7 separate regions of the Homo sapiens genome follow, and all the other regions are linked to region 1. Evidence: promoter capture Hi-C in 16 types of primary human blood cells and fetal thymus (Javierre and others, 2016). All regions are on one chromosome and are shown on one strand. Each heading gives the region's core, a stretch centred on a gene start or on the middle of the fragment in contact. The rest is flanking DNA. Distances are from core to core; before and after follow the strand shown. Region 1 holds the start of UCN3 (urocortin 3). Region 2 has its middle 36 kb from the start of AKR1E2. Region 3 has its middle 56 kb from the start of AKR1E2. Region 4 has its middle 60 kb from the start of AKR1C1. Region 5 has its middle 37 kb from the start of AKR1C1. Region 6 has its middle 9.0 kb from the start of AKR1C1. Region 7 overlaps LOC107984198 (a long non-coding RNA gene).

Region 1 (4,256 bases), core at 859-3,358:
GACCAACGTTGCCAGATCCCTGGCATCTCAGAGCCCATAAGGCAGACAGGAGAGTTAAACTCAGGTGGAAATCTACCCCTCAACCTGCATAAATTCCATTACTGCATCATTATCTGAAATGGAAAGCAGAACAAAAACCTCACAAAAACTAGAACAAATGAATGAATGAAGGAACTAATGAAGGAATGAACTAATGAATGAATGAATGAATGAACTAATGAATGAATGAATGAAGTAATGAATTTGAATTGAAACACAGATTCAGTTTCATGTTGCCTCCAATCTCAAGAGGATCCTAGCCCAGGCAGCTCTGAAAGAAGGAAGAGAGGGAGGTCCAATTTCCTATCTCCATAAAGAGACTTAAAATGGGGAGTACAGAGTCTTGAAGTCCTTCCCCACAACAGCTTTCCATTTGTTCCTCCAAATGCTCATGGGCTTTAAAGAGTTTTGGTAATTTCAGAAGACCTCTTACCTCTTCACCTGCAGGAATTCACGAGAGTGGAGCAGCCGTCTGGGAGGAGGGCTAGGGACAGCCAGCCGGTCTTGCAGGGCCCCTTGTCATCAGCTCAGCCCAGTGAAAGGAGCACTGAGCCCAGCGTCAGGCCTGGTTCTCACCTGACTCTGTCACCCTGGGCCTGTGGGGTCCCAGCAGGTCACTTTTTACAGCCTCAGCTTCCTCATCTGTGAATAAGGGGTCAACAGACCGTAGTCTCCCACATCTCCCCATTACATATGGAATAAACTCCCAACTCCGCAGGCCTTTGGAGCACCTTAGTGCAGAGCAGCCTCTGCACCCACCAACACCTCCCTCCCATCGTCCTCCTTCTCTCCCGTTCCTCTCAGCCCTGGCTCAGTCCATGCTGATCCATCCTTTCTGTCTGAAACCCCTCCTGCTCTCCTCTCCTGTCTTGAGTAGACAGGACTGCTCTCTTCTGTAGCATTTTTTACCTACCTTTCTTTCTTTCTTTCTTTTGAGATGGAGTCTCACTCTGTTGCCCAGGCTGGAGTGCAATGGCGCCATCTCAGCTCACTGCAACCCCCACCTCCCAGGTTCAAGTGATTCTCTTGCCTTGGCCTCCTGAGTAGTTGGAATTACAGGCACTCGCCACCATGCCCGGCTAATTTTTTTTGTATTCTTAGTAGAGCCGGGGTTTCACCATGTTGGCCAGGCTAGTCTTGAACTCCTGACCTCGTGATCTGCCCGCCTCGGCCTCCCACAGTGCTGGGATTACTGGCATAAGCCACCGCACCCAGCCTTCCCTACCTTTCTAAACCATGAGGCCCTGTATGGTTAGGGGCCACAACTTACTTATCTCTGAACTCGTGGGTGTCTTGGCAATACCTGGTACACAGTAAGTCCTCAATAAATATAGGATGCATAAACGAGTAAAATCCAAGCCATTTCCCACTAAAACCTCCAGACCTCTGGTGTATGATGACCTGCTGTCATAGCCCAAAGGAATGGTTGAGTTTCAGGTATCCAGAGAAAAATGCAGGTGTAGAGCTTTCCCCTCAAACGTATTAACAAATAGATGGTGCTCAGTCATTTTCGCGGCAGGCTGCAGAGAAATCTTAAACTTTCGTGTTGTTTCACTGAGGGTACGGCAGAAGAGCCCAAGGAATGTGAAAGGAGAAACTTGCATAATTAGACTTTATGTGGGGAGTAGGCACCGAGTGTGTGACAAGCACAAGGGGCTACGTGTGCGGCCAGATGACGCTGCACGGTCAGAACCCACAAAACAACACGGCAACAGGTGGATTTTAAACCCCTTCTCTGCTTTCAAAGCAGGTCCAGGCTCTACATTTACAGAAGGAGAGTTAGGGCAAGGGGAATGTGGGGGAAACTGAAATTAGTTAGAACTAAGATCAGCAATAAAATTCTTCAAAGACACTGCTTCTCACTTTACCAGGATTTTTGTTTTGTTTTGTTTTGAGTTTTTATTTCTTCTTTTTCTTTTTTGTTCTTTGCTTTTATCAATGAAGCAAGTTGCTAGGATGCAAAAGGAGTTGGGGGGTAGAAGGGCGGGGTGGGAAGCAGAGGTGGGAGGGGTCGAGGTTGGAGCACCTGTCGTCTGCATGACGTGGACGGCTGGTTCTGGTTGTATTTTAAATGAAATCTCATCCCAGCGTAGACACCACGTCTGGAATTACGATCCACCCTGTGATCTGTCACTTTTATATACACACAGGGGAGGGGACCGTTTCCATAGAGAGGGAATATCACAGCCCACTTAGGAACAATACCGGAGAAGCAGGAGCCGAGACCCCGGAGCAGCCACAAGTTCATGGGGACGTGCACGGGGCCGCCCTCCTGGCCCTGAAGCTGCGCCGGCCTCCCTGAGCGTTTCGCTGCGGAGGGAAGTCCACTCTCGGGTAAGCTTGTGGCTGGGACTGACTTATGAAGGGTAAATGTATCTGCCCTAATTTAAGCAGGAGGTGCCATGCACTAGACAGGTGTGAGAGATGAGAGCTGCTAGCGCCCCTGGGTGGAAGCCCAAGGGAGCGATGCTGAACGCCCCCCACCCAATCAGCAGAAATCAGCCCCAAAGGGACCAGGGGAAGTTTCTCAGGGAGGCACAATCACATTCCCACGTTGGTATAGAGAGACCCTCTTTCCAAAGGTGTTAGATCAGAGGCAGAAGGTGTTCACACAAATCTGTTTTCTCTGAACAGAGCACAGCTGTGCACAGGAAAGTCAGTCCTCGGAGACAGTTTACAAATGGGGATGGGGTAGGGATGCCGGGGCTAATGGGAGCCACAGGACATGACTCCACGCCGCCTGCAAAGCAGCGAGGACACCTGCACTTACTGTTTACCTGTGCCACAAACCTTCACCTGTGCCATCTCCCGTCACTCTCGGGCACACCTGTGAAGCAGGTAACGTCTCCTTCCTAGGACGCGGCAAGTGAAATGCAGGTTAAGGGATTCACCCAAGAAAAGTCAGAGGCAAGGGAGTTTCCCCAGCCAGGTCCTCTGCCACCAAAGCCCAGAGCCCTTTGCCACACTAGGAACATTGCGGGGGTGTGTGCAGATACCTACAATGGCTAACTCCTACCTGTGAAGGGGAGATGGATGTTTGATGTTTATGTTTTCTGAAAATTCCTGTTCGCAATTTCTTTCCCAAGCATAGCCACCTACCAAAAATAACAAATGTGAGATTTTTAAAACGTTTTAAGTGGTCTAGTTTCAGTTTAACTTCTTATCAGTGTTTGCAGACAAACGGAGCCCACAGGAATAGCTCTGCACTTGGCAGAGATGTGTGATCAGTACTGTTTGCCTCCTGCCTTTGCTGCTTCATGTCCTGTCCTCTCCCTGTGAGGTGCTGGGAATTGGAGGCTGACCCAGGTCCCTCACGTTTCAGTGCTTGGCTCTGCCACAGCTCCCAGAAGTAACTGTGTCTCTTTACAGCATCCTCGACAAGTGCTACTGTCACCATAGCCCAAAGGAATGGTTGAGTTTCAGGCACCCAGAGAAAAATACAGGTGTAGAGCTTTGCCCCTCAAATGTATTAATAACTAGATGGTGCCCAGTTATTTTCGTGGCAGACTGCAGAGAAATCTTAAACTTTTGTGCTGTTTCACCAAGAATATGGCAGAAGAGTCCAAGGAATGTAAAAGGAGAAACTTGCAAAATTAGACTTTATGTGGGAAGTACAGAGTATCTTTTCTTCTTTGGGGAGAGTTCCTTTTCTTTTATCCTATAAACCCTAAACAAATCTAAACAGATCCTAAAAAGAAAAGTCCTGGAAAGAAATCTGAATCTACCTTCCAGCCCCCAGCCACTCACACACTTTGATGGTGAAACCATCCAGGGTTGCAAAGAACCCTTACATTTTAAACGATCTAAAACTAAGCTCAGCACCGGGCGTCCCTATCATGTCCAATTCACAGTTCTGGGAGGTTCCTTTGCTGTGTAACTTTGCATCATTGCTGATGGTAAGGGGACACCTTTCAATACCCTCACAACCGTGTGCAGGCTAGAGCTGAGGGTTTGCAGAGAGAGAAAGGTCTGCTACCTGCAGATGCACCAAGAACAGAGCGCCACGCAGGACACTTGCTCCCTGACACTTTCACAGATTTTTCCACACCTTCAGCACCCTAGCCGTGATTACAGTATTCTTCTCTGATGGTAGACTTGGGATTTGAAAAATAAGAAGGTAATGCATTTTTTAAAAGGCACAGTATTTACAAATTGACCCCAAAAATGTGAAAAAGTAAATATAGAGGTAAAAGGGATCTCACTCCCTCTCCCCAATG
Region 2 (4,256 bases), core at 1,275-3,774, 500 kb before region 1:
ACTCCATGCATGTGCAGGTGCCATTTGGCCCTCATGGAGTTGACCTGTGGGAATTGGGGATCGAGGCACCAGATGGGGCTCTGGCTGCTGCTTTTGAAGAGTAGTGAGCCATCTTAGCTCCTGAGGCAGGGCCCTTGTGTCTTCCGCCAGTGTCTGTCTATCTATTGTCAGCAAGTATGACTGTCAGGAGCTGACTATTATATTTCTACTGGGGCAAAAACCTCAGATCCTTTCCAGTTCCTGATTTAACAGTTGGCAAGGCCTACACTATCCCCCCATGTTCCAGGCCAGTGAACTTAAACTTTAACTGACAGGAAATCTTTACAGAGATAAGTCATGATATTGGATTTGTGTTTTTAAAATAATGAGTTAGAGGCTGGGGGTAGAAGATGAGTCCATAGGGCACTAGGCACCTTTGAGGTCAAGAATATGTCTTCTCTCTTCACGGTGCCATTGCAATCTTCTGACAAATAGCCCATCCAACTGCTTCTTCGTTTTTATAGACAGAAGCTGAATCTATGTGGCAAGAGCCAGTTTTGATAGCTGTTGTGATGGACTCTTCATACTCTCTCTGAGGAACCTTTATGACCAAGGACAGCATTGTTGTCCTGTCTGATTCACACAAGGGGAACCTCATAGTGGCTGCCAACTTTTTTGATTGCACCTCTATCAGTAAAGCTTTTTGAATTTGCATAGAAATATATCCATGTTTATTGATTTATTACTATATGAATGTACTGCTTTACTAATACGATGTATACATTATTAAATACTCTTAGAGCATCTGAAGATTAAATTTAAAAATCGAAAAATAAGAGCTTTATTAATAACCCAAACTCTGTGCTCTCTCTAATATATTGTGATTAATACCAAATTCTTTTCAAAGCAATGGTATGAATATGCTTTATTGGCTTTTTTTGTTGGTCCTTCTTGATTTAATGCTTTTTGACCTAGAAATGTGAACCTTGGGATTCTACATTCAGTTTAATTTGAAATACGGTTTTCATGGCAGTCAACTGCAGCTAAGGATGCCTCATAGAGATGCTTCGATGCACATAGGGGAAGTCCGTCTTTGGGTCCTCTTCATAAATCATGGTATGGTTTTCTCAGTCCCCTTTGCCATTTGTATAATTTTTGAAATTTGACCAGTACATTATAATCTCCTCTGATATGCTCTTGGTATGTAATTGTAATCAATCAGGCTCAAAACTTACAAAACATTTTATTTGGAAGATTTTTAAACAGATTAAAACACTCTATCCAAAACTTTTAAAGTGTTCAGGAAATTTTTGTAGGTGCCACACTTCTATCATTTTAACAACAAAATCTCACAGTGACAGAAATATTTTCGGACATCTATTTCAACCTTAAGAAAGAAGATTTAATGTGTTATTTAATTAAAAAAACTCTAAAAACTAATCATCATCCCAGAGCACATTAGCAAATATAGAACATTTTTTTGGGAGGGGAGTAAAAATGTGCAATATGTCTTCTTCTTCTTTTTCTTTTCTTGAGATGGAGTCTCACTCCATTGTCCAGGATGGAGTGCAATGGCGTGATCTTGGCTCACTGCAACCTCTGCCTCCTGGGTTAAAGCGATTCTTGTGCCTTAGCCTACCAAGCAGCTGGGATTACAGTTGCACCACCGCGCCCAGCTAATTTTTGTATTTTTATTAGCGATGGGGTCTCACCATTTTGGCCAGGCTGGTCTCAAACTCCTGACCTCAAGTGATCCTCCCGCCTCGGTCTCCCAAAGTGCTAGGATTACAGGCATGAACCACCGCGCCTGGCCAATATGTCTTTATAGTCAAAAATTCTTTGAAATAATTTACCATAGATAAGTGAACTTTTTGTGTGTGGCCTAAAAGATATATTCCTTCACTCACTTTTTGATGGGGTTGTTTGTTTTTTTCTTGTAAATTTGTTGGAGTTCTTTGTAGATTCTGGATATTAGCCCTTTGTCAGATGAGTAGATTGCAAAAATTTTCTCCCATTCTGTAGGTTGCCTGTTCACTCTGATGGTAATTTCTTTTGCTGTGCAGAAGCTCTTTGGTTTAATTAGATCCCATTTGTCAATTTTGGCTTTTGTTGCCATTGTTTTTGGTGTTTTAGACATGAAGTCCTTGCCCATGCCTATGTCCTGAATGGTATTGCCTAGGTTTTCTTCTAGGGTTTTTATGGTTTTAGGTCTAACATTTAAGTCTTTAATCCATCTTGAATTAGTTTTTGTATAAGGTGTAAGGAAGGGATCCAGTTTCAGCTTTCTACATATGGCTAGCCAGTTTTCCCAGCACCATTTGTTGAATAGGGAATCCTTTCCCCGTTTCTTGTTTTTGTCAGGTTTGTCAAAGATCAGATAGTTGTAGATGTGTGGTATTATTTCTGAGGGCTCTGTTCTGTTCCATTGGTCTATATCTCTGTTTTGGTACCAGTACCATGCTGTTTTGGTTACTGTAGCCTTGTAGTATAATTTGAATTCAGGTAGTGTGATGCCTCCAGCTTTGTTCTTTTGGCTTAGGATTGACTTGGCAATGCATGCTCTTTTTTGGTTCCATATGAACTTTAAAGTAGTTTTTTCCAAATCTGTGAAGAAAGTAATTGGTAGCTTGATGAGGATGACATTGAATCTATAAATTACCTTGGGCAGTATGGCCATTTTCACGATATTGATTCTTCCTATCCATGCACATAGAATGTTCTTCCATTTGTTTGTATCCTCTTTTATTTTGTTGAGCACTGGTTTGTAGTTCTCTTTGAAGAGGTCCTTCACATCCCTTGTAAGCTGGATTCCTAGGTGTTTTATTTTCTTTGAAGCAATTGTGAATGGGAGTTCACTCATGATTTGGCTCTCCGTTAGACACACATAGGCTCAAAATAAAGGGATGGAGGAAGATCTGCCAAGCAAATGGAAAACAAAAAAAGGCAGGGGTTGCAATCCTAGTCTCTGATAAAATGGACTTTAAACCAACAAAGATCTAAAGAGACAAAGAAGGCCATTACATAATGATAAAGGGATCAATTCAACAAGAAGAGCTAACCTAAATACATATGCACCCAATGTAGGGGCACCCAGATTCATAAAGCAAGTCCTTAGAGACCTACAAAGAGACTTAGACTCCCACACAATAATAATGGGAGACTTTAACACCCCACTGTCAACATTAGACAGATCAACGAGACAGAAAGTTAGCAAGGATATCCAGGAATTGAACTCAGCTCTGCACCAAGTGGACCTAATAGACATCTACAGAACTCTCCACCCCAAATCAACAGAATATACATTCTTCTCAGCACCACACCGCACTTATTCCAAAACTGACCACATAGTTGGAAGTAAAGCACTCCTCAGCAAATGTAAAAGAACAGAAATTATAACAAACTGTCTCTCAGACCATAGTGCAATCAAACTAGAACTCAGGATTAAGAAAGTCACTCAAAACCACTCAACTACATGGAAACTGAACAACCTGCTCCTGAATGACTACTGGGTACATAACAAAATGAAGGCAGAAATAAAGATGTTCTTTGAAACCAACGAGAACAAAAACACAACATACCAGAATCTCTGGGACACATTTAAAGCAATGTGTAGAGGGAAATTTATAGCACTAAATGCCCACAAGAGAAAGCAGGAAAGATCTAAAATTGACACCCTAACATCACAATTAAAAGAACTAGAGAAGCAAGAGCAAACACATTCAAAAGCTAGCAGAAGGCAAGAAATAACTAAGATCAGAGCAGAACTGAAGGAGATAGAGTCACAAAAAACCCTTCAAAAAATCAATGAATCCAGGAGCTGGTTTTTTGAAAAGATCAACAAAATTGATAGACCACTAGCAAGACTAATAAAGAAGAAAAGAAAGAAGAATCAAATAGATGCAATAAAAAATGATAAAGGGGATATCACCACCGATCCCACAGAAATACAAACTACCATCAGAGAATACTGTAAACACCTCTATGCAAACAAATTAGAAAATCTAGAAGAAATGGATAAATTCCTCGACACATAAACCCTCCCAAGACTAAACCAGGAAGAAGTTGAATCTCTGAATATACCAATAACAGGCTCTGAAATTGAGGCAATAATTAATAGCTTACCAACCAAAAAAAGCCCAGGACCAGACGGATTCACAGCTGAATTCTACCAGAGGTACAAGGAGGAACTGGTACCATTCCTTCTGAAACTATTCCAATCAATAGAAAAAGAGGGAATACTCCCTAACTCATTTTATGAGGCCAGCATCATCCTGATA
Region 3 (4,256 bases), core at 1,106-3,605, 480 kb before region 1:
TCTTTTATTTTGAGCAGTTTTAGGTTTACAGAAAAAAATGAGAAAAAAAATGCAGAGTTCTCATATATACCTCCATACCTCTCTCCCCAATCGCCCCAATTATTATCTTACAATAATGTGGTATATTTCTTATAATTGGCCAGCCAATATTGATACATTATTATTAAGTAAAGTCCATAGTTTACATTAGGGAATATTATTTGTGGTAACGTTCTACGGGTCTTGACAAATGGATAATCACCGTTACAGAGTCTATGAAATAATAATTACACACCCCTAAAAATCCCCTGTGCTCCACCTACTCATCCATTTCTCCCCCAACCCCTGACCTGACAACCACTGATCTTTTTACTGTATCCATTGTTTTGCATTTTCCAGAATGTTACAGAGTTTGGATTAGATAGTATGTAGCCTTTCTAGATTGGCTTCTTTTACTTAGTAATGTGTATTTAAGGTTTCTCTATGGCTTGATAGCTCCATTTGTTTTTCATGCTGAATAATATTCCATTGTTTGGATGTAGCACAGCTTATCCATTTACCTGCTGAAGGACAGATTGGTTGCTTCAAAGTTTTGGCAACGATGAATAAATCTGCTATAAGCATCCTTGGGCAGGTTTATGTGTGGGTATATGTTTTCAACTCATTTAGGCAAATGTCAGAAAGCATGACTGCTGACTGCTGGATCATGTGGTGAGAGTATGCATAGTTTTGTAAGAAATTGCCAAACTGTCTTCCAAAGTGGCTGTATCATTTTGTATTTTTGAGAGTGGCAGGATGCAGCCAAATGCCTAGGCAGATAGGGGTGAGTCCTCAGTGAAACCCCACCTCCAACCCCAGCACAGTTTAAAGCTTGAAAGCCAAACTACAAGTTAAATCCTCAAACCAGATTGAGAATTTGTCTTCCTGTTTGTCGCACTTTCCTGTGATTGATCCCATCCTTCACCTATTTTACATATACCTAGCCTTTCCTAATTGGTTTTCTACACTGTCATGTCCACCTTTGAGTGGTATCTTCACTTTAACCTTTTTTGCATACTCACAAACCAATCAGCATGCACTCCCCCTTCTGAGTCCATAAAAGCCCCAGACCCAACCACATGGGAGGACTTTCCTGCCTTTGGGTAGGGGGAACAACACTGCATCCCATCTCTGCTGAAAGCCATTTTCCTCGCTTAATGAAATTCTTCTCCTCCCTCCACACCCTTCAATGTCCAGCATATTCTCATTCTTCTTGGGTGCGGTACAAGAGCTCAAGAACCACCAAACACAGGTACAAGCTATAATATAGGCAAGCTAGGGCACACCAGCATGGCCGAGTGAGGCCCAGGTGGGGCATCACCAGCTGGGGATCTTTGACTTGTAAAGTGACCAAAAAGAAAAATCCTACATCATTTTCACCAGCAATTAAGAAGAGTTTCAGTTTCCCTATATTCTCATCAGTGGTTGGTGTTGTCAGTGCTTTGGAGTTTGCCCATTCTAATAAGTGTGCAGTAATTAATTTATGATTGTCTAGTGATACATGATGTTTAGCAACTTTATTGGATTATTTGCCATCTGTATATCTTTGTTAAACTGTTCAGATCTTTTGCTCATTTCTACATTGGGTTGCTTATGGTTTCTTAACCTTGAGTCTTAAGATTTCTTTGTATAATTTGGAAATCAATTTTTTATCAGATATATGTTTTGCAAATATTTTCTCCCATAAATGGTTTGTCTCCTCATTCTCTTGGCAGTGTCTTTCACAAAGCAGAATTTGTTAACTTTAATGAAATCCAGCTTATCCATTCTTTCTTTCTTGGATCATGCCCTTGGTATTATATCACCATACCCAAGGTTTTCTAGTTTTTCATTTATATATTCTAGGAGTTTTATAGTTTTGTATTTTACCTTTAGGTCTGTGATCCATTTTGAGTTAATTTTCATGAAGGATGGAAAGTCTGTGTCTAATTCCTTTTTAAAATGTTTGAATGTGGATGTCCAGTATTTCCAGCATCATTTGTCAAAAAGGTTATTTTCTCCATTGAATTGCTTTGCTCCTTTGTCAAGATCAGATGACTGTATCTGTGTGGGCCTATTTCTGGGATCTCTCTGTTCTGTCCCATTGATCTATTTGTCTGTTCTTTCACCAATACCACACTGTCTTTATAGTATCTCTTAAAGATGGGTAGTTTTAGTTATCTGACTTTGTTCTTCAGTATTGTTTTGGCTATTCTTGGTTTCTTAATTTTCAGTGTGAACTTTAAGATTAGATCATTGGTATTCCCAAAAATAACTTACTGGTAATTTCATTGGGATTGCATTGAATCTATAGGTCAAATTGTAAAGAACTTACACCTTCATATAGCATCTTCCTACACATTTAAATATAGTGTCTTTTCATTTATTTAAATCTTCTTTGATTTCTTCTTCAGCGTTTTAAAGTTTTCCTCATATAGATCTTGTCCATACTTTGGTTTTTTGTTTTGTTTTGTTTTTTTGAGACAGAGTCTTGCTCTATTGCCCAGGCTGGAGTGCAGTGGCATGATCTCTGCTCACTGCAACCTCTGCTTCCTGGGTTCAAGCGATTCTCCTGCCTCAGCCTCCTGAGTAGCTGGGATTATAAGTACGTGCCACTATGCTCAGCTAATTTTTGTAGTTTTAGTAGAAATGGGGTTTCACCATGTTGGCCAAGCTGGTCTTGAACTCCTGACCTCAAGGGATCTGCCTGCCTCAGTCTCCCTAAGTGCTGGGATTACAGGCATGAGCCATCGCACCCAGCCCACTTTGTTAGATTTATACCAAAATGTTTCTTTGTATGGTGCTAATATAAATGGCATTGTGTTTTTAATTGTAAACGCCACTTTTTCATTGCTGACATATAGAAAAGCAATTGATTTTTGTATATTAACCTCATATACTGCAACCTTTCTATAATCACTTATGAGTTCCAGGAGATTTTATTGATTCTTTCAGCTGGAATTGAGTATTTCTTTTCCCTCAGGTTAGATTCAAGTAAAACCTCAGGCATAGGCTCTAGTAAAATATCTTCTGCTGAGGTCAGGCCCTTTTAGGAAAACATGGCTGCTTTGGGCTCCTCCAGCCGGAAGCATGAGGGAAATTTTCTCTGGTATTCACTGAGAAAACTTGGTAGGCTCTAGAGGTAAAATTCACAAAAGCGTGGAGGCCTCCATAAGAATGGATGTCCCTGGAGCTTTTCTCTCTCAGACTTGTTCACATTGAGCTCCCAGCAATTCATTAATAACAGTGTAGGTTTTCCTACTCAGCACTGGCCCCAGCTGTGGTTTTTGCTTCCTGGCTTCTGCAAGGCACTGATCATGTCTCTATCAGCCTATCCCTCCAAGTTTTGGAGGCAGCATTTTGCCCTGTGACCTCAATTATCTGTTGAGTCTAATTGTTAGTTTTCCATCTGTTGAATTGCTTACATTATTTGAGGACGTGAGTAATGACTTTCCAGCTTGTGATCCACCAGCCCAGAAACCAAAAGTTTAGTAAATGAACTTTTCGCTGCATATTTTTCTTACTCTTTGTTCCCTGACTCCAGTGATTTGATAAGAGGAATCGACAGAGATCCAAAGAAAAGCAAGAGACCTCATTAAGGTTCACTTGAAGCATGTTCTCCCACGCAGCCTGCAGGCAAGGTCCTGCACTGGGTTACAGGGGCTGGGTTAGTCATCAGGCACACACCAATTTTCTATGGAACTGTTGCATGTGTGTTTGCTTAGTCATGGACACTAAATGGGAAGGAAGGGTAGTTCATTAGACTCAGGGCTTAAAACCTACCTGGACCCTGTAACCCCTCACCTGAGCTAATTTCTCACTATGATCAGTTTGCTGCACATAATTAACCAGTTGTACTTCTACTCAAGCTTCCTAGGCCATGTAAAGTCCCTCCCAGCCAATCAGCCTTCACTTGGCCAAATTCCTTTCACCCTTTAGAGTTCAAGGTAATGTCCAAGTTCCCCTTTGGGTCTCCATCAACTATTGAACTCAAAACCTTTTTTTTTATTTCTCTAAATTGATTATGTCCAAAGTGGAGGTAAATCTCCTAAGGGTCACAAAAGAAAACTTTTTAGAACTCCTATTTGTATTTTTTATCCAAAAAGATGAAATAAATGAAGATTTACTAATACTCAATTGTAAATTGATAATCATCCTTACTCAGTCAGCATGTAAGATGTTTACACAGAGATATGACCACCTGGGTGAAGTGTGAGTCTTCCCCAGCACGGACAGATTGGCAGTTCTTCCTACAGTCA
Region 4 (4,256 bases), core at 594-3,093, 460 kb before region 1:
TGAAACCTCATCTCCACTAAAAATAGAAATTAGCCAAGTGTAGTGACATGTGACTGTAACCCCACCTACTTGGGAGGCTGAGGCAGGAGAATCGCTTGAACCCAGGAGGCAGAGGTTGCACTGAGTCAAGATCTTGCCACTGTACTCCAGCCTGGTGACAGAGGGAGACTCTGTCTCAAAAAATAAAAATAATAATAAAAAAATAAAAAACACATCTTCCAGCCCAGTAGTACTTTTACCCCACCAGTTCTTTCTTGTGTGTTGAGATGGAGTCTTGCTCTGTTGCCCAGGCTAGAGTGCAGTGGCGTGATCTTGGCTCACCACGACCTCCACCTCCCGGGTTCAAGCGATTCTCCTGCCTCAGCCTCCGGAGTAGCTGGGATTACAGGCACGTGCCATCATGCCCAGCTAATTTTTGTGTTTTCGGTAGAAACGGGGTTTCACCATCTTGGCCAGGCTGGTCTCAAACTCCTGACCTCAGGATCCACCCACCTCAGCCTCCCAAAGTGCTGGGATTACAGGCGTGAGCCACCACACCCACCCCCCACCAGTTATTTTCATGTGCAACACTAATGACCAAAATTTGTTTGATCTATTTCCCTCTAAAAGAATTTTGTCTTCTTGTAGTATAACTGTTTTTTGTCTTAAAGCAGGCAAAATAAGGACAAATCAGAATATTGTGTTATGTCCAGAAAGCAAGGTTGGTTTTGAAGGCTGCTAGCAATGATTCTGAAAGGGCAAAGCTGCTCACTGAAGGAATCCTATTAGACTCACTGTGACATTTAAAAATGAAAATAGTGTTAACATTGTTATTTGGAAAAGTGGAGTCTATAAAAAGCCATGAATTAATAATTATGCTGAAAAAAGCAAATTCATATAAAGTTTGGAGAAGGTAGCTAGAATATAAAAAGAGGTGAACAAAATGTTTAATTCGTTACTGATTTTAATAAGTTAGGGAAGATTATATGTACGAGCACTTTTTTTTCTTTCATATGAGTTTCAGATTAGAGAATGAACAACATGTACTTCTTTCTGGTTTCGGAAGCAGAAACTTGAAAGCAAGCCAAGCAGTGTTGAAAGTGTGACAAGTACAAGAATAATCAGTTCAATCAGTCATCATACAAAATAAAGGTTAAGCACTCCAGTGGAAAGTACCAGTTTTCAAACACCAATAAATGGAAACTCTAAAATGCATATCAACTCAGGACACACAAGTTTGAGAAACGACTAAAGCTTATGAGAAAGTCAAAAGGCACAGACATTTGTTTAACTGTGTGGAAAGAAGTGCCTTTGTGTGAAAGAGAGCTCACTCGGCCTGATGATTGTGGCCTTGGGATTGACTCATCCTGGGAAAGGGACTCACGCTTAGGACTGAAGGGGGCCAGCCCCTCCACACCTGTGGGTATTTCGATTCAGGTGGGAGGAGAGACTGAGAAAAGAAATAAGACACAGAGACAAAGTACAGAGAAAGAACTGTGGGCCGAGGGGACCAGCGCTCAGCATACGAAGGACCCGCACCGGCACCAGACTCTGAGTTCCCTCAGTATTTATTGATCATTATTTTTACTATCTTAGCGAGGGGAGTGTAGCAGGGCAACAGGTGGGGAGAAGGTCAGCAGGGAAACATGTGAGCAAAGGAATCGGTATCATGAATAAGTTCAAGGAAAGGTACTGTGCCTGGATGTGCACGTAGGCTAGATTTATGTTTCTCTTTACCCAAACATCTCAGCGTAGAAAAGAGTAACAGAGCAGTATTGCTGCCAGCATATCTCGACTCCAGCCACAGGGCGGTTTTCTCCTGTCTCAGAATAGAACCAATGGGATTGGTCTGCTTTACACCTAGACATTCCATTCCCAGGGACGAACAGGAGACAGAAGCCTTCCTCTTATCTCAACTGCAAAGAGGCCTCTCTCTTTCACTACTCCTCCTCAGCACAGACCCTTTATGGGTGGGATGTCGGGCTGGGGGACTGTCAGGTCTTTCCTTTCCCACGAGGCCATATCTCAGTCTGTCTCAGTGGGGGGAAACCTTGGACAGTACCTAGGCTTTCTTGGGCAGAGGTCCCTGCAGCCTTCTGCAGTGCATGGTGTCCCTGGTTAATCGAGAATGGAGAATGGCGATGACTTTTACCAAGCATACTGCCTGCAAACATATTGTTAACAAGGCACATCCTGCACAGCCCTAAATCCATTAAACTTTGATTCAATACAGCACATGTTTCTGTGAGCACAGGGTTGGGGCTACAGTTACAGGTTAACAGCATCTCAAAGCAGAAACAATTTTTCTTAGAACAGATCAAAATGGAGTTTGATATGTCTTCCTTTTCTACATAAACACAGTAACAATCTGATCTCTCTTTCTTTTCCCTACATAGGACCTGCTGAGAAACAATATCAATTAATCAATTATCCAAGTTCAGCAATTTCAGCTGGTCTTTTTGGGGATATTTCAATAAAGCTTTATTCATGAACACTGAAAGTTTTAATTCATGTAATTTTACATGGCATGAAATAATATAAATCTCTTACATTTTCAATCGCTAAAAAATATACAAACCATTTTTGGCTCATGGGCTATACAAAACTGGGCAGCACGTTAGGCTTGTGGGCCATAGTTCTGTATAGTTAGTGGGTATTATTATATCTGTAGTTATTTTTCTATAAATTCTTATTTTAAAATTATGATCACATACATACAATGTAATATTTATTATTGTAACTATTCATAAACATATAATCCAGTGGCATTAAATGCATTCACAATGTTGTGTGACCATCACCATTTCTATACCCAAAACATTTTTGTCATTCTTAGCAAAAACTCTGTACCTATTAAAAAATTTCCTTTTGAGTTGTTCATTGTTGGTGTATGGAAACACAACTGATTTTTTTGTGTGTTGATCTTATACTCTGCAACTCTGCAGAATTTATTTATTAACTCTAGAAGATTTCTTATGAATTATTTGAGATTTTCTACATGTAGGGTCATATCGTCTGTGAAGAGAGGATTCCTTTTACTTCTCTTTCTTGTCTGATAGCTCCAGCCAGAATATCCATTACAATGTTAAATAGTAGTGATGAAGGCAGGCATCCTTGTCTTGTTCCTCACCTTAAGGGGAACACTTCCAGTCTTTCCCCTTTGAATTTCTCACATATGGCTTTTATGTGTGTTTTTTACCTTTATTATATTAATTGTTTTATTACATTAATTGATTTTCTTCTTTGAACCATCCTTGTGTTCCTAAAGTCCCATTGGATGATGATGTATAATCCTTTTAATATGTGATGGGATTGGATTTTCTAATATTTTACTGCAGATTTTTGAATAAATATTCACAGGGAATAAAGGTCTACAGTTCTCTTGCAATAACTTTATCTGAGTTTTGTATCAGAGTAATGATAGCCTCATAGAATGAGTTTGGAAGTGTTCCTTTCTCTTCAAGTTTTTGGAAGCATTTCAGGATTGGTATTATTTCTCTTTAAATGCATGGTAGAATTCACCAGTGAAGCCATCTGGTCCAGAACTTTTCCCCACTGGGAGGTTCTGATTACTGATTAAATCTCTTTACTTGTTACAGTTCTGTTGAGATTTTCTATTTATTCTTCAATTAGTTTAAATAATTTGTGTGTTTTAGGGAATTTGTCCATTTCTTCTAGGTTACCTTATTAATTGACATGCAATTGTGATAGCATTTTCCTATAATTCTTTTTATTTTATAAGGTAACATTCTCACTTTCATTTATGATTTTAATTATTTGCATTTACTCTCTTTATATTTTTGTCAGTCTAGCTAAAGCTTTGACAATTTGCTGGTTTTTTTAAGTACAAACTTTTCTTTTCATGAATTTTCTGTATTGTTTCTCAAGTATCTTTTATTGTTTTCACTCTAATCCTTATTATTTCCTTCCATCTCCTAGCTTTGAATTTAGCTTGTTCTTTTTTTTAGCTTCTTATGATGTAAAATTAAGTTATTGATATGAGGTCTTTCTTCTTTTCAATGTACGTATTTACAACTATAAGTTTCCCTCTGAGCATTACTTTTACTGCATCTAATAAGTTTTGGAATGTTGTGATTTCATTTGTATTCCAAGTTCTTTGTAATTTCCCCTGTAATTTCTTCTTTGACCTATTGATTATTTAAGACTATTTCATCTAATTTCCATATAATAGTGAATTTTCCAGTTTTCCTTCTGTTATTGACATCTACCTTATCTCATTGTGGTTAGAGAAGGTAGTTAATATAATAGCTATCTCT
Region 5 (4,256 bases), core at 827-3,326, 440 kb before region 1:
ATTTGTAAATTGCATGTCATGGGGGTTTGGTGTGGAGATTATTTTGTCACCCAGGTACCAATCACTTGAATAGAGTGTCCCTTCCCCAGTGCTTGTTTTTATTAATTGACAGAAATCAGATTATTGTAGTTGTGCAGCATTACTTCTGGGCTCTCTATTTTGTTCCATTGATCCATGTGTCTGTTTCTGTACAAGTCTCATGCTGTTTTTGTTACTGTAGCCTTTCAATATAGTTTGAAGTTGGGTAATGTAATGCCTCCACCTTTGTTCTGCCTTGACTATTAGAGTCTTTTTGGTTCCTTATAAATTTTAACATAGTGTTTTTTTCTAGTTCTGTGAAGAATGTCATTGATAGTTTGATGGGAATAGCATTAAATCTGTAAATTGCTTTGGGCAGTATGGCCACTTTAACAGTATTAATTCTTCTTATCCATGAGCATGGAATGTTTTTCCATTTGTTTTTCTCGTCTCTGATTTCCTTTGAGCAGTGTTTTGTAATTGTAATTCTCATGGTAGTGATATTTCCCCTCTGTGGTTATCTTATTCCTAGATATGATGCTCATTTACCATTCCAACAATCCTAGGGCACAGACAATCACACACACACACAGGTACACACACTTACATGGAGTCATGCACACAGGCACACACACATGCACACACTTGCATACACATACACACTAGCACACAAACACATATACACACAGGCACACACACACACAGGCACACATACACACAGGTGCACACACACACAGGTGCACACAAACACATATACACACAGGCACACACACACACAGGCACACATACACACAGGTGCACACACACACAGGTGCACACACATACACACACAGGCACACACACAGACACTCTCATCTTCTCCAGCTCTTCTTCTTCTGTGTATTGATGTTATCTTCAGGGTGGGTGGAGGCTGCTGAAGCAATTTTTGAACTCACACTGCAGCAGGACAATAGCTACTTGCAGAAGAAAGGCCACCTTATTTTAAAAATTTCTTCCTAGAAGTGAGGAATCCTTCCTAGAAGCCCCTAGCATAGTCCCTCTTATGTGGCATTGGCTAGGACTGGGTCACAGCAGCTCTCTTCCCACTGCAACCACATGCCAAGGGCAAGGAAATTAACATGAGTGACCTAAACAGACCTTTTGCAGTAAATCACATGTTGATGAGATTACAATCCTGACCCCTAAAACCATAATATGAAATTGATGTTTTTCACAAAAGTTAGACATTTCCAATATTGCCTATATTTCCAAATTGCTTTGCAAAGTTTTAAAACAACTCAAAATAAATTAAAGTTTTAAATGTAAGAACTGAAACTATAAACTGCTATCAGAAAATGTAAGGAAAATTCTAAATTCTTTGGGGAAAAAGTAATAACTAAATTTAGGGAAATAATTCAAGAGTATGACCTCAAGAACACAAACAAGAGAATAAAAACAGACATATATGGCTTAATAAAACAAATAAGCTTCTGTAAATCAAAAGAAATAATCAAAAGGGTGAACAGACAACCTACAAAATGGAAGAAAATATTTACAAACTGTAAATCCAATAGAAAACTCATATCAAAAATTTATGGCCAGGCGTGGTGGCTCATGTCTGTAATCCCAGCACTTTGGGAGGCTGATGTTTGTGGATCACCTGAGGTCAGGAGTTCAAGACCAACCTGGTCAACATGGCGAGATCCCATCACTACTAAAAATACAAAAATTAGCCAGGGGGGTGGCTCATGGCTATAATCCCAGGTACTTGGCAGGCTGAGGCACGAGAATTGCTTGTACCTGGGAGGTGCAGGCTGCAGTGAGCTGAGATTGTGCCACTGCACTCCAGCCTGGGCGACAGAGCAAGACTCTGTCTCAAAAAGAAAAAAAAAATTCTAAGAAACTCAACAACAACAACAACCCAAATAACCTCTGTTAAACTGGGTGAAGAGCAGAGGTTTCCCAGCTTCATGCTTCGGCATACCTCTAGGAACTTGATATCTGCCCGCCGAAACTTCTTCCTCCTGCTGGTGCTTGTGTCTGCCATTGTGTAACCTGTAAGCGGGCCTTCTACTTGGCTAAGCAGGAAGATTAGATGGCTGTGCCTTCCACAGGTCAGATCAATGTCTTATTACACAGATAGCTTCTCTCAGTTAACAGGGATCCAATATATACACATCTGTATCAGCCATAGCCAGTTCTTTCCCATAGAACCATCTACTGGCCTGGAACTTGAATCACTCAACACAAAAAGACATCTGCTGATGCAAGCCCACTGCACTAGGGAATAAGATAAACTCCCTGATAAGCTCGACATCCAAAAAAAGCAAATGCAAAACATAACAGGGTAAAATAGTTTATGCAATTGAGAAAAAAACAGGAAACAACTCTGAAAGTATGAAAAAACAGACTGTTTAACACCCTCAAAGGATCACACATTAACTCTCCAGCAATAGATCCTAACTTAAATGAAATTTTGAAATACCAGATAAATAATTCAAAATATTGAGTTATAGAAACTCAATGAGACCAAACAGAAAGCTGAAAACTAACACATAGAAATCAGAAAAAAACAATTCAGAATATGGAAGAATATATTGACATCATTTAAAAAAGAATCAGAACTTCTGGAAATAAAAAAATTCATTGAAGGAATTGTGAAATACAGTTGAAAGCTTTAACAATAGGCTAGACCAAGAGGAAGAAAGAATTTTAGAGCTGGAAGACAAGTCTTTGAAATTAACTCAATCAGACATTAATATAGAAAAATTAATTTTAAAAAATCCACAAAGTCTTTGAGAAATAGGGAATTTTATGAAGTGACCATCCCTCAGAAATGTAAGTATTCCAGAGTGAGAAGAAAAAGAACTAAAAAGTATGGAAAACGCTTCGGAGGATATACTTCAGAAAACCTTCCCTGGTATTGGGAAACATTTAGACATTCAGATGCAAGAAGATCACAGAATTCTTGGAAAATACATTTCAAGATGAACCTCACCACAGCATATAGTCATCAGACTATTTGAAGTCAACATAAAGAAAAAAATTCTAAGAGTTGCAAGAGAGAAACACTTAATCACCTGTAAAGGAAATCCCATCAGACTAAAATTGAATTCTCAGCAGAAACCCTACGGGCCAGAATATACTTCAGGCCTATATTCATCCTCCTTAAAGAACAAAAGGCAGCCAAGTATTTTATATGCTGCTAAGCTAAACTTCCAAAATGATACAGGAATATTCTTTTCCAGACAAACAATTACTAAGGGAATTCATTACCATTAGCTCAATCCTAGAAGAAATGCTGAAAGAAATTCTAAACATGGAAATTAGGGGACAATACACATCATCATAAAAGGGCACATTAGTACAAATCTCACAGATCCTACAAAGTAATTACATAATTGAAACTCAAAGACAACTAGGAAACAATACTATGACAGAAACAGAACCTCACATACCATGTTAACCTTAAATGTAAATGACCAAAATGCTCCACTGAAAGACACAGAGTGCCAAACTGGATACAAAAAGCAAGATTCAACCATACACAGCATAGGAGAAACTCACCAAGTGACTAAAGGCATCTACAGACTTAAAGCAGAGGGGTGGAAATGCATATATCACACAAATAGAAAAAAAATACCAAAAAGCAAGAATGAGCAGAAGTAGCCACTCCTGTATTAGATAAAACAGACCTTAAAAGAACAACAGTGAAAACAGACAAATAAAATGCATTTTATAATGATAAAAGGTTCAACACACAAAAAAGACCTAATTATTTAAAGTTGTATTTACCTAACACTGGAGCACCCAGATACATAAAACAAATACTACTAGACCAAAGAAAACAGATTTATAGCAGTACGATCATAGTACAGCACTTCAGCACCCACTGATATTATCTGACAGAACATCAAGGCAGAAAATCAGCTGAGAAACTCTGGAAATAAACTAGACCACAGACCAAATGGACCTAATATTTGCAGAACATTCTATCCAACAACCACAGAGTATAAATTCTTCTCATCTGCACTTGGAATATTCTCCAAAATTAAGTATATGCTTCACTGTAAAGCAAGTCTCAACAAATTTTTAAAAATCAAAATGATATCAATTATATTCTCAGACCATAGTGGAATAAAATCAATACCAAGAGGAACTTGGAAAATTACACAAGTACATGGAGACAAAACAACATGCCCCTCAATAACTTTTGAGCAAACAATCAAATCAATTGAATCAAACTAAGTGCCTATCAA
Region 6 (4,256 bases), core at 840-3,339, 410 kb before region 1:
CAGCAAATGAAAGGATAAACAGAGTTTTGTGTCTACACACAAAGGGACATTATTTAGTTTTAAAAAGGAAGGAAATTCAGATACGTGCAATAATATGGTTGAACCTTGAGGACATTTTACTAAGCTACATAAGCCAGACACAAAAGGACAAACACTGTATGACTCCAACTATGTGAGGTGCCTAGAATAATTAAATGCAAAGACAGGAAGTAGAATGGTGGTTGCCAGAGGATGAAATAAGGGGGAAATGGGAAATTGTTGTTTAGTCAGTAGAGTTTTAGTTTGGGATGATTAAAATTGTAGTATACGTATACTGGTGATGCTTGCTCAGTAAAGTGGATGGACTTAATGCCAATAAACTATACGTTTCAAAATGGTTAAATGATGAATTGTATATTATATATATTTTACCACACTAAAGAAAAGGTTTAATGACAAGTGACAAAGCCAAGATACATTGAAGATCTACACCCATTTCCTTCTTTCCTAGGCCCTGGAGAAATGCAGAGATGCAGGTTTAATGAAGTCCATCAGGGTGTCCAGTTTCAATCACTAACTGTTGGAACTGATCCTCAGACAAGCCAGGACTCAAGTACAAGCCCATCTACAACCAGATGAGCCCTTAGGGCCACTGGGGCCATTTCTGACTTTGTGCTCTTCACACACTTCCTTACATTAGAATAATGTAATTGTTCAGTATGTTGTGCTTTAATTTTTTAAGAGAATGTCAAAGGCTAGCCATGACACTGTTATGTGTATTTCTTTTAATTTAACTTTTCCATAAATATTAAATAATGTAATTGTTCAGAATTAGTATCAGAATTGTTTCATAAATATTAAATAAGTTAATTGTTCAGAATTAGAATTAAATAATGTAATTTAGGTCTCCAAAACTTTTTTAATTTTCAATATTTTTAACTTTTATTTTAAGTTGAGGGGTGCACGTGCAGGTTTTTTATAAAGGTAAACTCATGCCATGGGGGTTTGTTCTACAGCTTATTTTGTTACCCAGATATTAAGCTTAGTACTCATTAGTTATTTTCAACATCCTCTCCCTTGTCCCAATTTTGATAAATTGGTAAAGGCAACAGCCTGAATAGAGGTGCATTCAAAAAAGTGTAGGAAGAGAAGAATGATACAGAAGTGTAGAAAGTATTCAAAGAATGGGTTATAAATACACCTGACAATTGAGATGACAATTTTCTTTGAGATGGCAGAAAAAACAGCATGCCTATATGCTCTTAGGAAGAATCTAGTAGAAAGAGAAAAACTGATGATGCAGGAGAGAGAGGATCAGAATTGCTGAATCATGTTTGCATTCATTTCCTATTTCTGCTGTAAAAAAATATCACAAATGTTGTGGCCTGAAACACCATAATTAATTTTCTCACAGTTCATCAATTATGAAACATCATAATTTTCTCAAATTCCAATGAATTTGGAATCAGAATTCCAAAATCTGGTTCAACAGGCTAAAGTCAGGGTGTCCACAAGGTTGTATTTCTTCTTGAGGGTCTAGGGGAAAATGCTATTCTGGGCCATTCCAGGTTCCAGAGAATGTGTTCCTTGGCTCATGGCACTTATTCTATCTTGAAAGCCAACTACATGGCATCTTAGGATCTCTGTCCTATGCGTCTTTCCTTACACATCCTCTTTGATTGTGGCCCTCCTGGGTGCCACTTGTAAGGATTTTGAGATGACATTGCCTATCCAGATGATTCAGGAAACGCTTCTATCTTAGGATCCTTAACATAATCACATCTGCAAAGTTTGTTTTGCCAGGTCAGGTAACATAGTCACAGCTTCCAAAGATAAAGGCATGAGTTATTGGCAGGGCAGGGGGAGGGAGCAGTATTGAGCCTACTGTACTAGCTTTGTGGAGAACTTGAAGCAAGTAAGCCTTAATTTTCTAGCCTTGCTAATAGAAAGTACTATATCACCAGCCACTAGGTCCTGAAAAATCTAGATTTCATCTCAGATATAATGAAATAAAAACCTGTTCCTTAGCTCTGATATCATTTATACCCTATCATATGTCCCCTTCTAGTCATAGTCCCTTTATTCCCTTAGTTTACCATTTCTCCCAGGATTTGTGAATATCTTTTTTCACTGTACATGCAGAGAACTCCAGCATTGCTGTTCTTTACATTCTCAACAACTGAAAGTTTCTACTCATACTTAGATTATACTTCAGGCAACTACTTCTATGCTATAACTTATACAGACAAAGAAGTACTTATAACTGCTCTATGAACCTTTAACTTTAACACACTTCATACTAATGAAGCCTCTTACGCTTCGATTTTCACTACACATCAGTTCATCAAGTTCTTAATTCATTAAGGGTTTCGGTCATTGGGTCTCTCATGTTTCCTCTTTCCAAATTCATTAAGGGTTTCGGTCATTGGGTCTCTCGTGTTTCCTCTTTCCATTCTTTCAATCTCCACACAAGTTTACATATTCAGATTTGCTTACATAATAAAGTAAATTGAAATCCTCAGACTACACTCATTCTCTCTAAATTTCTCCTTTAGGTTTTCTGCTGGTTGGGGTCTCTTGTCCTTGTACCTATTGATCTGTGCTTATAGCAAACAAACTGGATCAATCTGCTTATAGCCAGAACAAATTGCCCTGATTGTATTTTTGTAGATCATCTAGCCAAAAGCTAAAATCCTACACCAGAGATTCTTATTCATTTGATCTGTAGAAAAGTTTAGGTATCACTATGTTTCCTTTATTTTGTTTTTGGATTTGTATAAAATTAAAGTTTACAAGTGCAGTTTGCTACATAGATATATTGCACAGTGGTGAGGTCTGGGCTTTTAGTGTAGCTATCACCTGAATAATGTCCATTGTACTTACCCAAAAATTTCCCAGCCTCCCAGCCTTCTGAGTCTCCACCAGTGGAAGACGGAGGATCCAGTGGGCAGATATCAAGTGCCTATAGGTGTGCCTAGGCATGGAGTTGGGAAACCTCTGCTCTTTGATGAATTTTAAAGAGGTTATTTGGGTTTTGTTGTAATTATTGTTGTTGGGTTGAGTTCCTTATAAATTCTGGATATCAGTCCCCTGTTAGATTCACAATTTGCAATTATTTTCCCCCATTGTATAGGTTGTCTGTTCTCTGTTGATTTTATTTTATTTTTTTTTGCCTTTACAGAAGCTTATTGGTTTAATTAAGTCATATGCGTCTCTTCCTATTCTCTCATTTGTGTTTTTGAAATCTTAGTCTGAGTTCCTTGCCAGGACCTACTTAAGAATTTTTTGCCCCAATAAGTTTTCCTTAGATTTTCTTCTAGCACTTGATAGTCTCAGGTCTTACATTTAAGACTGATTTATTTCCAGTTGTTTTAAAAGCTTGCAAAGCTATTTTGAGGCATAAGCAAGGTTGCAAATGTCTAACTTTTTGAAAATATCAATTTTTCATTATGGTTTAGGGGTTAGGATTGTATTATCACCAACATGCATTTTATGAGAAAAGCTTTGCTAAGGTCACTCATGTTTATTTCCTTGCCCTTGGCATGAGCTACAGTGGGAAGAGTGCTGCAACCCAGCCCTAGCCAACACCGCATGAGAGGGACTGTGCTGCAGGCTTCTGAGAAGGTATCTCTCACATCTAGAAAGAAGCTTTTAAGATGTGGCAGCCCCTCTTCTTAAAGTGGCTCTTGTCCTGTTGCCCTGGGAGTTCTAAAATTGCTGCAGCAGCCTCCACCCAGCCTGAGGATGACATCAATACATAGAGGAAGAAGAGTCAGGAAAAGATGAGAGAAGTTACAGACTCTCTTGGGCGACCCCGAGAGCTTACCATTCCTCAGACTTCTTCACATGGTGCTAACAGATTTGTATATGTAATGAGACAGTTTCCTGATTCCCCTTGGAGGACTTGCGAGGGGTGTGGCTCACCGGTTCAAACTGCTTGAGGGAGGGGGAGCATGGAGATGGGCAGGTGCACAGGCCAGGGCGAGCGCTTTGGGCTCTGGCTCCATGGTAGTGTCTAGTGGTGGGTGCCTGCAACCACAGTGTTGTAAAGCTCTTTCAGCTTTGCCATCTGCAGACGGCTTGAGTCTGCAGCTCCATGGACCCTCTGACTTATCTCAAAGGCAGAGGGCCAGTGTGACAGCTTTCTATATCCCAAGCTCTTGCCAGGCATCCCAGAAGAGTCAGATCACATGTGGGCTCAAAGGATGAGGGCAAGATTTTATTGAGTGGTGGAGGCAGCTCTCAGCAAGATGGATGGGGAGCCGGAATGGGGGAAT
Region 7 (4,256 bases), core at 441-2,940, 280 kb before region 1:
TTTTTAAATAGAATAGGGATCTCACTGGAGGACATGCAAGTAATTTAAATTTGTTCATACATATAGGCAGGGCCCAGAGAGATTAAGAGCACATGTGGTTTAAATGCTGTTATCTCTGCTTTGTGAATAGCATGGTAAGTTGAAAATATTTGCCATTGAAGCAAGGGACTATTTGCCTCAAGGTTAAATAAGACAAGAAGAGCTTCAGATGCCTGGTCTGCAGTGATGAGTAGAACAGGCCCTTCTGCTGTTGGGTGCAGACATTTCTCCTCCACCTTCTTTAAGGCATTAACACTCACTAGACGTGTTCATGTAAAGGTGTCTCGATAGTGTTAACTCCAGTCTCCTTGTGAGTCTTGCTGACTTACCATGACTAGAGGACTTGGATGGCATGCTAGACCTTCCAGTAGCCAGCCTGGATCATTGTACTTGTTCTGAGTTGCACAGGTGTTTTACTTTTGTGCCAGGTGGTTGGAAATAGGCACATAAAATGGAGCTATTTGTTTTAAAATCATTTCATTTATTGATGCTCTTGTCCAGTGTGTCTGAGGGTGGTATCTGCCTTCCCAGGAGGCAGGAGTGGGGCCCCCAACTGAGGAGCTCATGGTGCACTCTTAGCTTTTAAGACTTGTCATACAGGGTGCAATAAAACAAAATGTGCCACTCAAAATGTACTTTTTTGGTATATTTTGATCTTGCTGTTAAGAGGGGCTACAATTCAGAGAGGCTGCAGACACAGAAATAGCCCTGAAAAGCTTTCTTCTCTGGCAGAGATTTGCAAGTGCTGAGGAAATACACGTTAGTGAAGTGAACAGAGGAGAAAAGCATTTCTCTGAGGCACACCCCACCCCCACCTTATCTGCCTAATTGGATCAAGGAAAGATTAACTCCCAGGAAAAACAGACTGAGATCCTAATGCTTTAAAGGTCTGACTGAGAAACTTCTCCATAGGCCACTGTCTATCTTCCTGAGGGCAGCTTGGGGAGCCCCTGAGAGACTCACATCTGTGTGGGGACAGCCTTGGCTCACCAAGCATACCTCTCTCTCTCCCCCATTACCTGAGACCCCACCTCCCCGAGAGACCCCAAGCCCCTATTCTCTCTGTAGCCTCAGGATGTGAGGAAATCTTCAATCATCTGGTCCTGCTTGGAGTCTCATATTTGCTGCTCCATGTACATGTATATGAATTTATATGCATTTTATGTTAATTATTCCATTGTCAGTGTATCTTATGTAATCAAGTCACCAAAACTTCAGAAGGGCGAGGAAAGAAAATTTTCTTTGCACCTGCAGGGGTATCTGCATGGTATGCAAAGCAGAAAAGTTAAAGCGAAATAATGAATCAGAGTCAGGGAATGAGCAAACATGACCTGGACAATGGCAATGAAGGAATTGTGCACGGCCTCTATACTGGTATTTACATAACTGAGGTCCATCAGTGCCAAGATCTTTGTCTTTTTTCTTTCCTTCCCTCTCACTGCCCATGTCCGGACATAGGCCGGTAAGAGCGTCTGGTTAAGATGTGGAGTAAGAACATCTTAAGATGTGGAGATGGGAAACACTGTATGGGAATGTGAATGAGTGTGTGAAAATGTTAAAAATCGTGTTGAGAAAAAAATCTTTCCTTGTGCAAGTATACTTACTTGCATAATTATCACCTTTAGTTTTGTAATTATAAGATTTCTCAGAGCCTGGCTGGGTGCGGTAGCTAATGTCTGTAATCCCAGCATGTTGGAAGGCTAAGGCAAGTGGATTGCTTGAGGCCAGGAGTTCATGACCAGCCTGGCCAACATGGTGAAACCCCATGTTTAATAAAAATACAAAAATTAGCTGGGCATGGTGGCATGCACCTCTAGTCCCAGCTACTCATGAGGCTGAGGCAGAAGAATTGTTTGAACCCAGGAGGTGCAGGTTGCAGTAAGCTGAGATTGTACCACTGCACCACTCCAGCCTGGGTGACAGACTGAGACTCCGTCTCAAACAAACAAACAAACAAACAAACAAAGATTTCACAGAGCCTGCCATTGAATGTGTAGTGTTTAGGAAGGATGGAAGGATCTTAAGGAAGCCACTATCTGTGTCTCACTTTCTTCGTAGTGTTAGATGAACTTTCTGGTTGACACCTGACAGGAAGAGCCTCTGTATTGGACCACCATGTTTGTGCTCACTGTGTAGTAACAAACCAACACACCAAAATAGCGGGAGTTGCCACTGACAAAGAGTTGAATGATCAAATGACGGCCAAAGGAGGAGGTAGGACGCAACCTCAAATTCACTGCCCCAAGGAGTTTTAGAATGGGGTTTTCAAGGGACTTTTGGCAGATAGAGGGCTGAGGAGTGGGGGGGTTACTGATTAGTTAGGGTGTGGGGGATGAAAACATAAAGATATAGTAAGTGCATTCTAGGATCAAATCAGTTCCTTAAAGTGGGTATTTACACAGGATGGTATCAGTGGATCTGTTGGAATGCAGGATCTGGAAAATATGGAAAATTTGAAACTTCTTCACATTACAGAAGTTATCTATAGAAGTTAGGGCCTTGTAATACAGGCTATAAGCTATAAGCAGCTATAAGAAAGTGGCCTGTGGGGCATAGCTGGTTAATGTTTAACTACCCTTCAACTCAAAAGCTTTGATTTTGCTAAAAACCTAGACATTCATTCAGTTTTATTGATTTTATAAGGATGGTGTCACCTTCATTAAACACATTTGTTCTGAGGGACAGTTGGGCCGCAGTGGCCATTGACTTATGTGGCCAAAATGCTTGCATTGACCAAAAACTTGCTTTCACATGAATAAAAATATTCCTCCAAAATAAGCACTTGTTTTGAGAGTCTCTGAAAAACAATCATTGTATATAAGAAATATATTTTGTGGTTAATGACATAATTTTACTTTACTCAGGGAAGGCTGTTTCTCTCAGTACATCGTTCAACTTTGGCACCAGCCAACATTCTCAGGACTCCCATAAAGCCAACCAACTAAGCAAAATCCTGAATATTGTTCACTAATCCTGATTCTGCCTCCTTTCTAGGTGTGAATTCAAAGGCAGCATTACTCCCCATTTTCTTCCCTCTCCTGTGTCTCTCCCCTGAGGCTTCTCTGCAAAACATCACTGCCCAGCTTAGCATCTGTCCTGGGCACTGGTAATAATGTGGTACCATTCATCCTCTCCTAGCATTTGATCACTCATCAGGAGCCCTCAGCCCCATGGGGAAGAGGACAGAAGAAGAAACCAGTGAGCTCCTGATTTCTTGCTTCTTTCTGTCAGTGTTTTTTCTAATATCTCCAAGTTGCAAGAGAGAAGTAGAAGCTACATGGCATTCACCCTAAACCTACTTGCATGATGCATTCTGTTTGTCTTAGAAGGATCATTGTACTTTATCATAAGAGGAAAAAACATTCTCCATTCTAGCAATTCTCTGGATGATTCTGCCTTAAATAGAGGGAGTTTTACTGTCTAGATTGAGCTTCTGCTCCTTGGTCCACTCCTCTTGAAACTTTACTGAGGTTGTTTATTAAATCTAGGAGTCTTTTTGAGGAACCTTTAGGGTTTTCTAGGTATATAATCCTGTCATCAGCAAACAAAAATAATCTGACTTTTATTTTTGCTACTTAAATGCCTTTTATTTATTTTCTTTACCTGATTGCCATGAATAGTACTTCCAATTTTGTGTTGAATAGGAGTGGTGGAGTGGACATCCTTGTCTTGTTCCAGTTCTTAGGGGAAAGGTTTTCAAGTTTTCTCCATGCAATATGACATTGGCTGTTAATTTGTCCTAGATGTCCCTTATTATTTTGAGTCATGTTCCCTTGATGTCTAGTTTACTGAGAGTTTTTATCATAAAGGTTTTATGTTGCATTTTATCAAAACTCGGCATCTGTTGGGATGATCATTTTTTTTTTGCTTTTAAGTATGTTTATATGGTGAATCGTGGTGTAATCATGTTCAGTGATTTGTGTATGTTTAATCATCCTTGCATCCCTGGAATGAAATCCATTTGGTCATGACGAATTATCTTTTTGATGTGCTATTGGATTTAGTTTGCTAGTATTTTGTTAAGAATATTTGTGACCATGTTTTCCAAGGATATGTTCCTCTAGTTTTATTTTTCTGTTCTGTTTTTGCCTGATTTTGGTATCAGGATGATACTAGTTTAGTAGAACAATTAGGGAGGAATGTCTCCACATTTTTTTAAAAGAGATTCCATAAAATTGGTACCAGCTCTTCTTTCCATGTGTGGCAGAATTGAGTTG

What was found. The method cuts DNA at HindIII sites, captures the fragments that hold promoters and counts their contacts. A CHiCAGO score of 5 or more calls a contact.
Region 2: a fragment that was not itself captured here is called in contact with the fragment with the promoter of UCN3 in region 1 in 1 of 17 cell types (M1 macrophages); the score reaches 5.0 in M1 macrophages.
Region 3: a contact is called between a fragment that was not itself captured here and the fragment with the promoter of UCN3 in region 1, in 8 of 17 cell types (monocytes, M0 macrophages, M2 macrophages and 5 more). The highest score is 9.9, in monocytes.
Region 4: a fragment that was not itself captured here is called in contact with the fragment with the promoter of UCN3 in region 1 in 3 of 17 cell types (M2 macrophages, M1 macrophages and naive CD4 T cells); the score reaches 7.4 in M2 macrophages.
Region 5: a fragment that was not itself captured here is called in contact with the fragment with the promoter of UCN3 in region 1 in 7 of 17 cell types (M2 macrophages, total CD4 T cells, monocytes and 4 more); the score reaches 7.4 in M2 macrophages.
Region 6: a contact is called between a fragment that was not itself captured here and the fragment with the promoter of UCN3 in region 1, in 2 of 17 cell types (M2 macrophages and M1 macrophages). The highest score is 6.8, in M2 macrophages.
Region 7: a contact is called between a fragment that was not itself captured here and the fragment with the promoter of UCN3 in region 1, in 3 of 17 cell types (M1 macrophages, M0 macrophages and endothelial precursors). The highest score is 6.8, in M1 macrophages.

Annotation. Positions count from the first base shown.
Region 1 is chr10:5,362,858-5,367,113 of GRCh38, forward strand. It overlaps UCN3 (urocortin 3), which reads left to right and starts at 2,109. Exons shown (of 2, transcript NM_053049.4): 1 at 2,109-2,373. The HindIII fragment of the contact is 8,098 bases long and covers 1-2,376 here.
Region 2 is chr10:4,859,877-4,864,132 of GRCh38, forward strand. It overlaps a transcript of AKR1E2 not described here. Among named protein-coding and RNA genes, the nearest start is that of AKR1E2, 36 kb to the left of the region's middle. The HindIII fragment of the contact is 3,697 bases long and covers 677-4,256 here.
Region 3 is chr10:4,879,835-4,884,090 of GRCh38, forward strand. It overlaps the pseudogene AKR1C6P. Among named protein-coding and RNA genes, the nearest start is that of AKR1E2, 56 kb to the left of the region's middle. The HindIII fragment of the contact is 3,017 bases long and covers 848-3,864 here.
Region 4 is chr10:4,901,585-4,905,840 of GRCh38, forward strand. It overlaps the pseudogene AKR1C6P. Among named protein-coding and RNA genes, the nearest start is that of AKR1C1, 60 kb to the right of the region's middle. The HindIII fragment of the contact is 1,225 bases long and covers 1,232-2,456 here.
Region 5 is chr10:4,923,948-4,928,203 of GRCh38, forward strand. No RefSeq gene overlaps it. Among named protein-coding and RNA genes, the nearest start is that of AKR1C1, 37 kb to the right of the region's middle. The HindIII fragment of the contact is 1,188 bases long and covers 1,483-2,670 here.
Region 6 is chr10:4,952,307-4,956,562 of GRCh38, forward strand. No RefSeq gene overlaps it. Among named protein-coding and RNA genes, the nearest start is that of AKR1C1, 9.0 kb to the right of the region's middle. The HindIII fragment of the contact is 2,143 bases long and covers 1,019-3,161 here.
Region 7 is chr10:5,078,649-5,082,904 of GRCh38, forward strand. LOC107984198 (a long non-coding RNA gene) reads left to right here. Exons shown (of 5, transcript XR_001747341.2): 5 at 2,098-2,323. It also overlaps a transcript of AKR1C3 not described here. Among named protein-coding and RNA genes, the nearest start is that of AKR1C3, 14 kb to the right of the region's middle. The HindIII fragment of the contact is 1,874 bases long and covers 754-2,627 here.